Linked DNA regions of Homo sapiens: region 2 is linked to region 1. The links are contacts of gene promoters, found by promoter capture Hi-C in blood cells and fetal thymus (Javierre and others, 2016). All regions are on one chromosome and are shown on one strand. Each heading gives the region's core, a stretch centred on a gene start or on the middle of the fragment in contact. The rest is flanking DNA. Distances are from core to core; before and after follow the strand shown. Region 1 holds the start of HIPK1 (homeodomain interacting protein kinase 1). Region 2 overlaps TSPAN2 (tetraspanin 2).

The links. The method cuts DNA at HindIII sites, captures the fragments that hold promoters and counts their contacts. A CHiCAGO score of 5 or more calls a contact.
Region 2: a contact is called between a fragment that was not itself captured here and the fragment with the promoter of HIPK1 in region 1, in 1 of 17 cell types (naive CD8 T cells). The highest score is 6.0, in naive CD8 T cells.

The regions. Positions count from the first base shown.
Region 1 is chr1:113,927,672-113,933,302 of GRCh38, forward strand. It overlaps HIPK1 (homeodomain interacting protein kinase 1), which reads left to right and starts at 1,653. Exons shown (of 16, transcript NM_198268.3): 1 at 1,653-1,861. HIPK1-AS1 (HIPK1 antisense RNA 1) reads right to left here and starts at 1,854. Exons shown (of 3, transcript NR_110726.1): 1 at 1,691-1,854; 2 at 573-717. RefSeq lists an enhancer at 1,564-1,883 and silencers at 2,004-2,053, 2,074-2,383. The HindIII fragment of the contact is 2,173 bases long and covers 566-2,738 here.
Region 2 is chr1:115,061,178-115,067,120 of GRCh38, forward strand. It overlaps TSPAN2 (tetraspanin 2), which reads right to left. Exons shown (of 8, transcript NM_005725.6): 3 at 958-1,055. Among named protein-coding and RNA genes, the nearest start is that of TSPAN2, 25 kb to the right of the region's middle. RefSeq lists an enhancer at 1,155-1,678. The HindIII fragment of the contact is 8,678 bases long and covers 1-5,943 here.

The DNA of each region.
Region 1 (5,631 bases), core at 403-2,902:
TATAAATAGTTACTGAATGGACAAATGACTAAACTTTGAAACTTCTTTGACCTTACTATGCTCAAATATCACTTCTGATGTTCTTCTCCGACTCTCTCACTTATCTTATATATGTCTGCACACGTTTTTTCCTCATTAGACTGTAAGGTCCCTGAGGGAAAAGACCATGCTTTATTCACCTGTCTCATTCATACCTGACCCAGTGTCTAGAAGAGTGTATAGCACAGAGCAGGCACACAAGCAGTTTGCTGGATGAATGAGTGAATGATACTAAAGAGGAGAAAATACAGACTTTAAGAAGCTCTCCGTATAGTGAGAAAGACTGAGGACCTAAGAGCAATGAAAATAGAAGTTAACAAGTATAAATAAAGAAGGTACAGGTTAATTTAAGTAATCAGATGATGATGCAGAATTCAAATAAAATAGGAGTCAATCAGCAAAGGTTCCCGAAAGGGTGAATTCTGAGAGATATTTGAAAAGAGGAAAGGGACATAACTTGAGAGAGCAGGAGTTTAGGAACATGTCAGAGAGTTAGGTTGAACCAAGGCATGATAAACATGTTTGAAGCTTACATTCTGAGCAGGATCTGTTCTACCCAGACCACAGGTTTCTGCCTTTTTTTCTGGCTCATCAAGCAGGCATGTTTACCCACTCTTTTTATCTTCATGTTTCCCAGGTCAGCCCAATGTGAGGACTTTAAGTAGTAGAAGGAAGTTTCTGTGAAAATATGCAAACAAAACTGCCTTGTGGGATCGAACATTTTTGGTAACCCTAGTTCTCTAGGGAAATAAACTTCCCTGTTCCAGATAAAATGGAACTGCTCCCCGTGTTGTTAAGCCAGAGAGAAAGCCAAATGACTTCCCTTAAAAGGTACTTCAGCGCATTTTACACAAATCATAGTTTTCTGTGTGTGTTATGGGGATCCAAGGAAATCAAAGATGTTAATGAGTGAGATTTGAGAAACAAAACTTGATAGTAGAATTTTGTCTTAGCCACAACTGCCCTTCTCCTCACAGAGTATATGCAAATACCGATGGTGACGGACAGTCACTTTCTAGAGCTCAGATCACTGCTGCCTCCAGCACTTGTGGGATGGAAAAAATGAAGAAATTACAGTTGCCCTAAAAATGTCCCCCACTTCAGGAACCTGAATATTTTACACAGCAGGAGATACATCGGAAGTCCTACAGAATCTCTTGACTTTGGGAGATGCAACTGCTTTTCTATTAGGATAACCTAATTTTCTGTGTCCATTTTCTCAGAATGTTGTGCCCAACGCGTTCTGTTTCCTAAATACCCAGCCTTCCTTCTGGTAGAGGCAAGAAAATTATGCTAGCATTCGCTCACTGCATGTTTTGAGCGTTTGAGTTCAGAGTACAGCTATTCTCTCTCCTCGTAATGTAAACACAGGTTCCCACGGCGGCAATGGGAGACTCCCCTAAGGGGCTCTTGACGTACAGGGAGACTTCCAGATATGGTACACAGATGTCACATTGCTAGAACGTCTCTAGACGGCAACGAAACATTAAAGCCTAACCTGAGGTAATCCCTCACCGGCAGTGAAGCTCCTCTGCTAGGCACTGTCGTCCCGTACACTGCCCAAGCTCTGGGGGTGTCACACTAAACTGTGGTGATGTCACACTAGCTGGGATGACATTTTACAGTTGGATCCCGTACCACCGCCAGGCACCTTTAAATCACCGCAGAGTCTGCAGTGCGGAGGGGGCGGGAAGTCCAGGCCCCGCACTCGATCCACGCTGGCTCCCTACGGAGGCCCACCTACTCGAGGCCCACCGACTCCTACTGCAATCAGTACTATGCGATCGTCCTAGAGAGTCCATTCAGCTGCACTTCCGCCTCAGTAGGTGTCATGGCGCGGGGCGGGTGAATAGTTCCGGCGAGGCGGGGCCGGCCGGGTTGAGGGACGGCCGCTCGGCATTCCGTTCGTCGGGTCTGGCGACAACGGCGGCTGCGGAGCAAGGGGCCCGGCGGTAGCCCCGGACGGCAGCAGGAGGCCGAGGCGGGAGCGCGCGGGGCTGAGGCGGCGGCGGCGGCGGCGGGAAGGGGCTGGGTGGTGGAGCGGGAGGGAGGCTGAGGAGGCTCCCCCTGCGGGACGGGCGCGGGGACGGCTCCGGGGGGCGGGGGCCGGGGCCCGGGCCGGCTCGCGCGGGGGGTATGATGACCCGGCTGCGGGGCCCCAGATCTCGTCTCCTCCGCCGCCTCCTCACGGCAGCCCCAGCTCGCGGCTGAGAACCAGACACACCGGCGGTGAGTGGGGACGGGCAGGAGGGGTCCTCGGCGGGGAGCGACTTCCCCTCAGCTCCCTGAGGCGGGGCCGGGCCGGCCGCCGGCTCTCCTGGAGCGCCCAGCCTGCCGGGGGCGCCTTCCTCAAAGGGCCCCTGCCTGGGACCGGGCGCCGCGTCTTGCGGCCCGGCCGCTCACTGCCGCTGAGGGGATTGCCTTCCCAGGAAGGTGGGGAGGCTCCGGGCTGGTTTTCGGGGCAACTCCCCCTGCCTCCTGCCACTTCTCGCCTGGGCGTGTTGTCCTTAAGTGACAGGGGACCGCCTTGCGTCTCCTCACTCGGCCGGTTTTTTCCCCGGCTGTCGTGGCAGGTTCCCAGTGTGTGGCTTGTGCGTGTGTACTTCACAGCTCCGCTTATCACCATGGTTTTGGGTTATTTGTGCTGTTTGGGACCAGGAAGCCGTGCCTGGAGAGGACGACAGTGGGGTGGGTGTGGAAGCTTTTCTGTCGTCTCCGCTGATGTTCTGTAGTCGTTAGGCTTGTAATTCGTAATGACGGTGGAGACTACGTGAGACCAGCCCACCTAATGTATATCTGTACAAGGGAGATCTAGAGGTCTGGCCCAAAGGGAAACTTTTGCTGCCACCACTTTCAAAGCTTTCGTTAAAAAAACAAAAGGGAGGGGGAAGGTGGAGAAACAACCAAAATTCTGGTAAGGCCCACACTGTTCACAGGTCTGTGGGGAAGAGTCCCCTTTTTGTGCTTAGCAACCAAGACGTGGAGTTCCGTCTCCAGGAGCGTTGGTCTAACCTCCAGTTTGTTGTGGTGACGAGCTGTGAGCAATGGCCTGTGTTTATGCTGGGCGAGCTTTCTTTCCTACTTGGGGAGGGGGGTTCAGGATGGGAGGATGCGGGTAGGGAAGAGGGGGGGAAAACCCCCAAGCTCCAGTAAGTCTTTTCTTTACTTAATCACTGATTCTGTTGTAGGTAGACTCATTTAGAGGCAGTCCTAGATGCTCTTTCTTGTCTATTAGTGACACTTTGGGAATTCTCAGTAATTGCATCAACATAATACTTTCAGCTATAGACTCTCTGTCCCAATCTGTCCTTTATCTTGTTTCTTAGTAACTGGTGAAAACAGCAGTGTGGCTTCCCGCTCTTGATGAAATAGGGTTAAATTAAGTGGCTGATGCCCTCAGCAAACCTACAATTTTCCTTTTGTTTGTGTAAAGCTATTTTTGATCTCTGGTCTGTGGGTTTTTTTTTTTTTTTTGTAAGATTATAGAGAATGCAAACTATTACTAGCTTTTTTCATATGGAAGCCTAAAGCTTTCTATAAAACATTTTAAAATCTAACAAATCATTTGACCTAATTTTCATTATTCAGCTGGTGATTTTGGATCTTTACATGTAATTATCTCAGGGTTCTGTGTTATAATACTGTTATGATGAAGGGTGGCATTGACTTTAAGATACTGTTCCTGGCTTGAAAGATATTTTAGTAAAGTACTTGCGGTTGGAACTGGAGGCAGCCAAGCCAGTAAAGTATCTTAGAATAAAATGGTGAATGAGATCTTATAAATATACTGGCTCTGGTTGGCAAGTAGAACTTTTGCTGGTGATACCTTCATGAATAGTTTATCTCTCGACACTGTAGTTTTGTGGTTTTTTGAGCAAGTTCGTTGGTAACTTGAGACTTCAAACCAAACCAGAACTTCCTTCTAAAAGAAAAAAAAAGAAGAGATAATCTCAAAGTTCACAATTCTTTGGAAAATAAACTTCTTTCATTCTGTGCTTTTGTTTTTATAAGCACAGCTCCATCAATGATTTGTTGGTACAAATCAGTGAGTCATACCGGCCTTGTAAAGTTCTTACACTTGGAACTTGTGCAGCTTGTTAGTTATATATTGTAACTGGTCTTGTAATTTGAAGTAATTTTGCAAACATGAGCTGCTTGATCTGCCACCTGCATGAGTGTATAACAGCAGTCTGTATTTTTTAGGTCTTTTTAAAAAAAATTTACTATTATTCCTCCCGTTATCTTCCCTTCCTCTCCCTTTGTGCCATTCTGAACACAAGTCATCAAGATTATTTTCCTTTAAGTACCACTTCAACAATCACTGGTTTGTCTTTTGGTTCCTTTTGTTTTTGTTCCTGATCTTCCCTTTAGTTGTTGGAACCCAGCTCCTAAATGCCTAATATATTCCTGTAGTGCATAATTTGGCACTTGAAAAATTTACATCCTGTTTTCATATTTTTCTTTCTTTTTCATGTGTTATATCATTTCAGCAACATTTTAAGTTTTTTGAAGGTAAGGAAACTTACATTTCTTTTAGATTCTTTAAGGGTACCTGGTACAGTGCTTTCCCAGAGTGCTTAAGGAAAAAGAATGAGAAGACCTTTGCCAGCATTGCTACTCATTAGCGCTGGGTAAAACTCGTTTGGCCTTTTTGGATCTGTTTTTTTTTTTTTTTTTTTTTATTTGAGACAAGATCTCGCCCTGTCGCCCAGGTCGGAGTGCCGTGGTGGGTTCAGGCTGGAGTGCAGTGGTGGGTTCAAGTGATTCTCATACCTCTGCCTCCTAAGTAGCTAGGACTACAGGCACTACAGGCACGCACCACCATGCCTGGCTAATATTTGTATTTTTAGTAGAGATAGGGTTTTGCCATGTTGGCCAGGCTGGTCTCAGACTCCTGACCTCAAGTGATCCACCTGCCTCGGCCTCCCAAAGTGCTGAGATTACAGGCGTGAGCCACCATGCCTGGCCTGGATCGCCTTTTTCTCATCTCGGAATTAGGGGGTTTTAGAATCTTTAAGGTCCCTTTTATCTGTAAGAGTTCCAGTACTTTTTTGCTAGTGTCTTCTGCTCCAGTTAAATATATCTCCTTACTCTACACGGTTTTTTATTTTTCCACATCCTTTGGCATACTAGCATAGCAAAAGTCATCTCATTCTTCTGAAAGAGCCTCCTCCATCTTCCATTCTCCAAACTGCTGTTGCCTTACTTAAGTCCCGTTTTCCTTCAGCCTTTGCTGGCATATTGTTTATGTTTCATATTGATCTCTGCTTTGTTAATTTTAACTTTTTCTTATCCTGGAAACTCCTCAAGGTATAGTTTTCTTAATTCTAAGCTTTATAGACCTATAGACTGTTATGTGCAGGTACTAAAATGTAGTACCTTTTTACTAAACACAAAGCACTTACTTTTCTTTTGTTCTGTTGCCGTAGTCATTCCAAATAAATCTAAGTGAACTATTGATTTTGATACAAAGCAACAGCCTCTGCCACACTGAAGAAGTGAGCTTTAAGCAGAGACTAGAAGGGTAAGTAAAAGTTAGGAAAAGAAAAGCCTAAGGGGGAAAATGAAGTTCAGAGAGGAAACATGTTGAAG
Region 2 (5,943 bases), core at 1,572-4,071, 1.1 Mb after region 1:
ACATAGCAAGAGATCAGAGGCTACGGCCAGAGTTAAAAATCCAAATATCACAATAAGTAATGAGAGATGAGAGGCTGCCTATTAAAACTGCTGTTTCTGACTCCCTGTGGAGAAATATCAACACTTTCTCTCCTCCTGCCCCTCTTCTTCCTTTCTGTTTCTCTCAGGCTACACTGACATAGAATGTATAGCAGTTAATTGAAATTATTTGATTTTTGTTTTAAACAGAGGTTGCTTGTTAAAATAAGCCACAAGAGGGATTTTGGTTAAGTTATTGATCTCAAACATAAATGTTTTCCTTGTAGATAACAGCACTTCCCTGGCTATAGAAACCTTTTAGCTGCCTCACCCACTGTGAAATATTTTTTTTTAAAGAACAATCATAGTCACCCCTTACAATTACTAAGTACTTTTACTCCCAAAACATCTTTACACCAATGACGTCATTTCTTTTCACACTTCCCATATAAGGCAGGAACAAAGATAATATTTTTTTTCTTTTTTCTTTTTTCAAGACAAGGTTTTGCTCTGTCGCCCAGGTTGGAGTGCAGTGGTACAGTCATGGCTCACTGCAGCCTCCCAACTCCTGGTCTTAAGTGATCCTCCTGCCTCAGCCTCCTGAGTAGCTGGGACCACAGGTGTGTGCCATCACACCCGGTAGAGACTAGGTCTCCCTGTGTTGCCCAAGCTAGTCTTAAACTCCTGGGCTCCAGAGATCCTCCTGCCTCAGCCTCCCAAAGTGCTGGGATTACAGGCGTGAGTCATGGCACCCGGCCCTAGTTAGTATTATTCATATATAAGAGATGGAGAAACCAAGACTGAGGGAGGAAAAGTGCATGCCAAGGGCTCAGAGAGTCCACGGAGGAGCTGGAGCCAGGGGCCAGAGGCACTGACTCCCTTCAGATGCAGGCCGCTCCCTCACCCCCACCCCACCATTTACCCCCTCGCCCCACTTACTGATCCAAGCACACATTGCGACTCCCGCATGGCTCCGCAGCACCCGAAGAACCCCACGGCCATCATCAGGGCCCCGGCTCCAACCAGAACATACAGCCCTGTGGGGAAGAGGTCAGAGGAGACCACTGAGAGCCAACCGAGTGCCTCCACGACCAACTAGGCTTAAGACTCTGGGCACTGCAGAGCATTCTAATAGTACCAAAAGGAGGTGCTATTCTTACTGCCATGTTTGACACGGAGGAACTGGGCCCCAAAAGGTAAAGCGATTTGCTTAAGGTCATAGAGCTGGTGTTTGGCAGAGCCGGGAGAAAAATAGCCATGAGCCTCAAAAGCCTGCCCAACACTCCGACTCTGTCTTGCATCTCTAGTGATGGAGGCAGCCATCATTCAGGTGGGGATTTCACTTACTGCTTAGGCAAGCCCCACGTACAGTTCTTACAGAGAAAGAAAAGGACAGAAATGCTCTGGTTCTGAGAGAACTAAAGCCAAGCCTTTTTGTATTTCCTTCTCTGATCCTGAGATAAGTTAGAATACAATATGGGACTTGGCACTTGTCTTACTTGGAATCATGTTAATGGTCTCTATTTCATTTTTTGCATTTTACTCATATGAGTCACCTGGAAACCACTCCCATTAATAGGGAGGGTGGGGGCTGGTGCCCCGCCTCTGTGGGGAACCCCTGGGCCTGGCATTCAGGGTGCTTCCTGGGGCGCCTCTGGGTTGCTGATGGTGGTTTGCGGGCAGATCTGGCAGTTTACAGACCTAGTAGGAGCCACAGGCGAGGCTGCTCTGCTTCCTGCCCCACCCGGACCTGGCCTCAGCGTTCTTTTCAGGGCCCTGAGGCCTTGCTGCTCTGCAGTCCTGAGGTGGGTATTTATTTCCTGCTGTTCTAGCTCTACCACCTCCTCCCTTTCCCTTTTCTCTAAAAGAATAATTTCATGAGGGAATGGATGTGGTAATGTGAGAAATGATATCATATTAAAAATAATAGTGTTGTTGGCCCCACTACCTCAACACTTTATTGTTTTAAAAATGTCTTTCACCAAAGGTCTAATATCCAGAATCTGTAAGGAACTTAAACAAATCAACAAGCAAAAGGCAAATAACTCCATTAAAAAGTGGGCAAAAGACATAAACAGACAATTCTCCAAAGAAGACATGCAAGCGAGCAACAAACATGAAATAATGCTCGTCATCTCTAATCATCAGAGAAATGCAAATCAAAACCACAATGAGATACCATCTCATACCAGTCAGAATGGCTTTTGTTAAAAAGTCAAAAATAACAGATGTTGGCAAGGCTGGGAGTAAAGGGGACACTTTATACAATGTTGCGAATGTAAATCAGTACAGCCACTGCAGAAGGCAGTTTGGAGATGACTCAAACAACTGAGTTGAACTACCACTCGACCCGGCAATCCCATTGCTGGGTAAATACCTAAAGGAAAATAAGTCATTCTGTCAAAAGGGTACATGTTCACTGCAGCACTATTCACAACGGCAAAGGTATGGAATCAACCCAGGTGCCCATCAATGGTAGATAGGATAAAGAAAATGTGGTACATATACACCATGGAATACTATGCAGCCATAAAAAAGAACAAAATCATGCCCTTTGCAGCAACATGAATGCAGCTGGAGGCCATTATCCTAAGCAAACTATCACAGGAACAGAACATCAAATACCGCATGTTCTCACTTATAAGTAGGAGCTAAATATTGGGTACACATGGACATAAAGATGGGAATGATAGATACTGGGGACTACTAGAGGGGCACAGGTGTTGAAAAACTAACTATTGGATACTATATTCATTACCTCAGTGACAGGTTCAGTCATACCCCCAATCTCGGCATCACTCAATGTACCTTTGTAACAAACCTGCCCATGTACCCCCTGATTCTAAAATGAAAGTTGAAAAAGAAAAAAAAAAGTCATTCACTGTGTTGCAATGTTTTCAAAGCTCTCACTTCCATCATCTTATTGGCTTCTCAAAACAACGTGGTTAGGTAAGCAAGGACTATTATTTCTGTTTTACAAATGGAGGTCTGAGAGTCAAGATGGCTGTAGGCAGGATGCCCTGGCCTGCAGCCCCAATTCCCATCCCACACTTCTATTTGACCACCCCACAGAAGCGAGCTGAATGCAGGGCGGCAGCAACAACACCATATTCAGTTCCTTCATGGAATGTCTCCTGGTGGACCCCCTTGCTGCAGAACATGCCCATTGCCTCTCATTGCTACTGCCACAATTGCTACATGATGCCGTTTGCAGATCTATCATGAAGTCACAGCCTACAGAACAGTTTCCCCCAAAATCTTTATCCATCCTATGCTCCAGCCACCTGGGAATTCACCATGATCTGGCTGTGTCCTGCTCTTTTCCATTTTGTGCTTTTGCAGGTTCTCATATTAGTCTCTCATTATAGATTTCAAGTTGACAAACCTTATTCATCCTCTCTAGAACATGCCCTGCACAAGGCAGAATTCTTAGTCAGTGTGCATTGGATTAGTAGATAAGACAGAGAAAATCAAATCAGTTCCAGGCTTGCTGGCTGTCATCACCCATCTTTGCTTAGAGATATATGCTGGAAACAGGTCTCAGCAAACATCCACAAAGCAACTACATAGCTGTGCTCTCCAAAGCCAAGCACATGAGGATGGTTGCTTCGCACCCCGAGACACCCTGGAATATGTGAAAGAGGGAGGCTCGTGAGGAGGCAGGAGGCTCACTGGACAGGGGCACAGAGGTTTGAGGAGGCCAGAGTTGTTCCCCACTGTAAATGAAACTGTCTGCTCCCTCAGGCAACAATCCTTATCCTTCTGAAATAATGAGCTTTTCAGGAAAGTGTGCTTTTTTGAACAATATTTCATTCTTAGGCTATCAGAATCCCAGAGCTCACGGCAAAAACAACCTGAAGCTGCCCTAGCAGCTTCAACTTTGAGGCCACTTCTCAGCCAGCCTCTGTTTTGTATGTGTGGGCCCGTGACTCAGCCCAGCTCCAAATGAACATTGCTTGCTGAAGCTGAAGGGAAAAGCAGAAGAAATTCTACAAGAGGAAAGGTTCCCTGGGCGTGCCGGATCCAGTTCCAAATCTGGCTCTAATACTCCGCATGCCATAAGGCCACCTGTGGCTTCCAAGGATACTTTATCCTTCTTATGGTCTGACCCTCAAAAAATAGCTGCTGAATGTAATAATTAATTTACAGCCACATTTTAAATTCCAAGATGGTTACTGTAGAGCCTTCTCCTTCCCACAGGAGCAGGTGTGACAAACATACGACCTACTTCCCAAAGCCCTCATGCTTTCCGAGTCCTATTGCCTTTGATTTGAAAAATAGAAAACATTTTGAAATTACATTTTCATCATGAATAGCTGGCCTTTGGGATGCCAGTGATCTCTGTGACATGCTACCACAAGTACTTTCCCTGGGACACCTTCATTTTTAAAAATTTAAAAAGTATTTAAAATTATTTATTAATATCTTACTGATACATAATAGTTGTACACATTTTGGGGGTACATATGCTATTTCAATGCATGTATACAATGTGTAAGGATCAAATCAGTGTCACTGAGATATCCATCACCTCAAACATTTATCTTTGTGTTGGGAAGTTACAATTCTTCTCACCTAGCTACTTTGAAATATATAAAAATTATTGCTAAATATAATTTTCCTACTGTTCTATAGAATACAAGAATTTCTTCCTTCTATTTAACTGTATTTTTGTACCCATTAAGCAGCTTCTCTTTATCTCCCCAACCCCCTACACTCTGCGGCCTCCAGTAACCATCAGTCTACCCTCGGCCTCCATGAGATCCACTTATTCAGTTCCCACATGAGTGAGATCATGTGATATCTGCTCTTCCTGTGCTTGGCTTGTTTCACTTAACACAATGGCCTCTAGTTCCATCCATGCTGCTACAAATGACAGGATTTCTTTCTTTTTATGGCTGAGTAATATTCCATTGTGTATATGTACCACATTTTCTTCATCCATCCATCTGCTGATGGACACTTAGGTTGACTCCATATGTTGGCTATTATGAAAAGTGCTGCAATAAACATGGGAGTGCAGATGTCTCTTTGATTTACTGATTTCCTTTCTTTTGGATATATACCCAGCAGTGGGAATGCTGGATGATAGCTCTATATTTATTTTTTGAGGAACTGCCATACTGTTCTCCATAGTGGCTGTACTACTTTATATTCCCACCAATAGTGTACGAGGCTTCCCCTTTCTCCAGATCCTTGCCAGCATTTGCTATTCTTTCTCCCTTTGATAATAGTCATTCTAGCTGGGGTAAGATATGGAACATGTTCCCAGGCAATTCCATCACTCTTTTCTTAGGTTTCAGAGTCTTCTTTTAAGCTAGAAACATCATTTTAGTTAACATAAAAATGAGAGAGAACCTCCTAACGGCCTACTGGGATAAACTCACTTAAAAATGTGGTTCCCCCCTTTTAGGGACTGGACGTGGTCATCAATTTTAATGGCTTTCTAGCAGCAGATGGTTTTACATAATCTGCTAATGACCATTTTTTTATTTGAAATTTTTTTATGTCCCTACATTTATGTCCCTTCAGTATCCCCTGAATGCATATAATAATGCAAATATCTAGAATATTGAATGCAACTTAGTTTTTGGGAAGGGCAAGTGTTTCAGATTTAGGATGTTTTCACATTTTGGAATGTTTGCATTACACTGGTTGAGCATTCCTAATCCGAAAATCCCAAATCTGAAATTATCCAATGAGCATTTCCTTTGAGAGTCAGGATAGTGCTCAAAAGGTTTTGGATGTGGGGGAATTTTGGATTTTGGATTTTCAGATTAGGGATGCTCGATCTGTAATAACAATAGCCAATATTTACTGAGGGCTCACCACAGAACAGATACTATGCTTAAATATGTTCATATTTCACAGCTGAAGAATCTGAGACACCAAGAAATTAAATAATTTATGTAAGATTGCATAGCT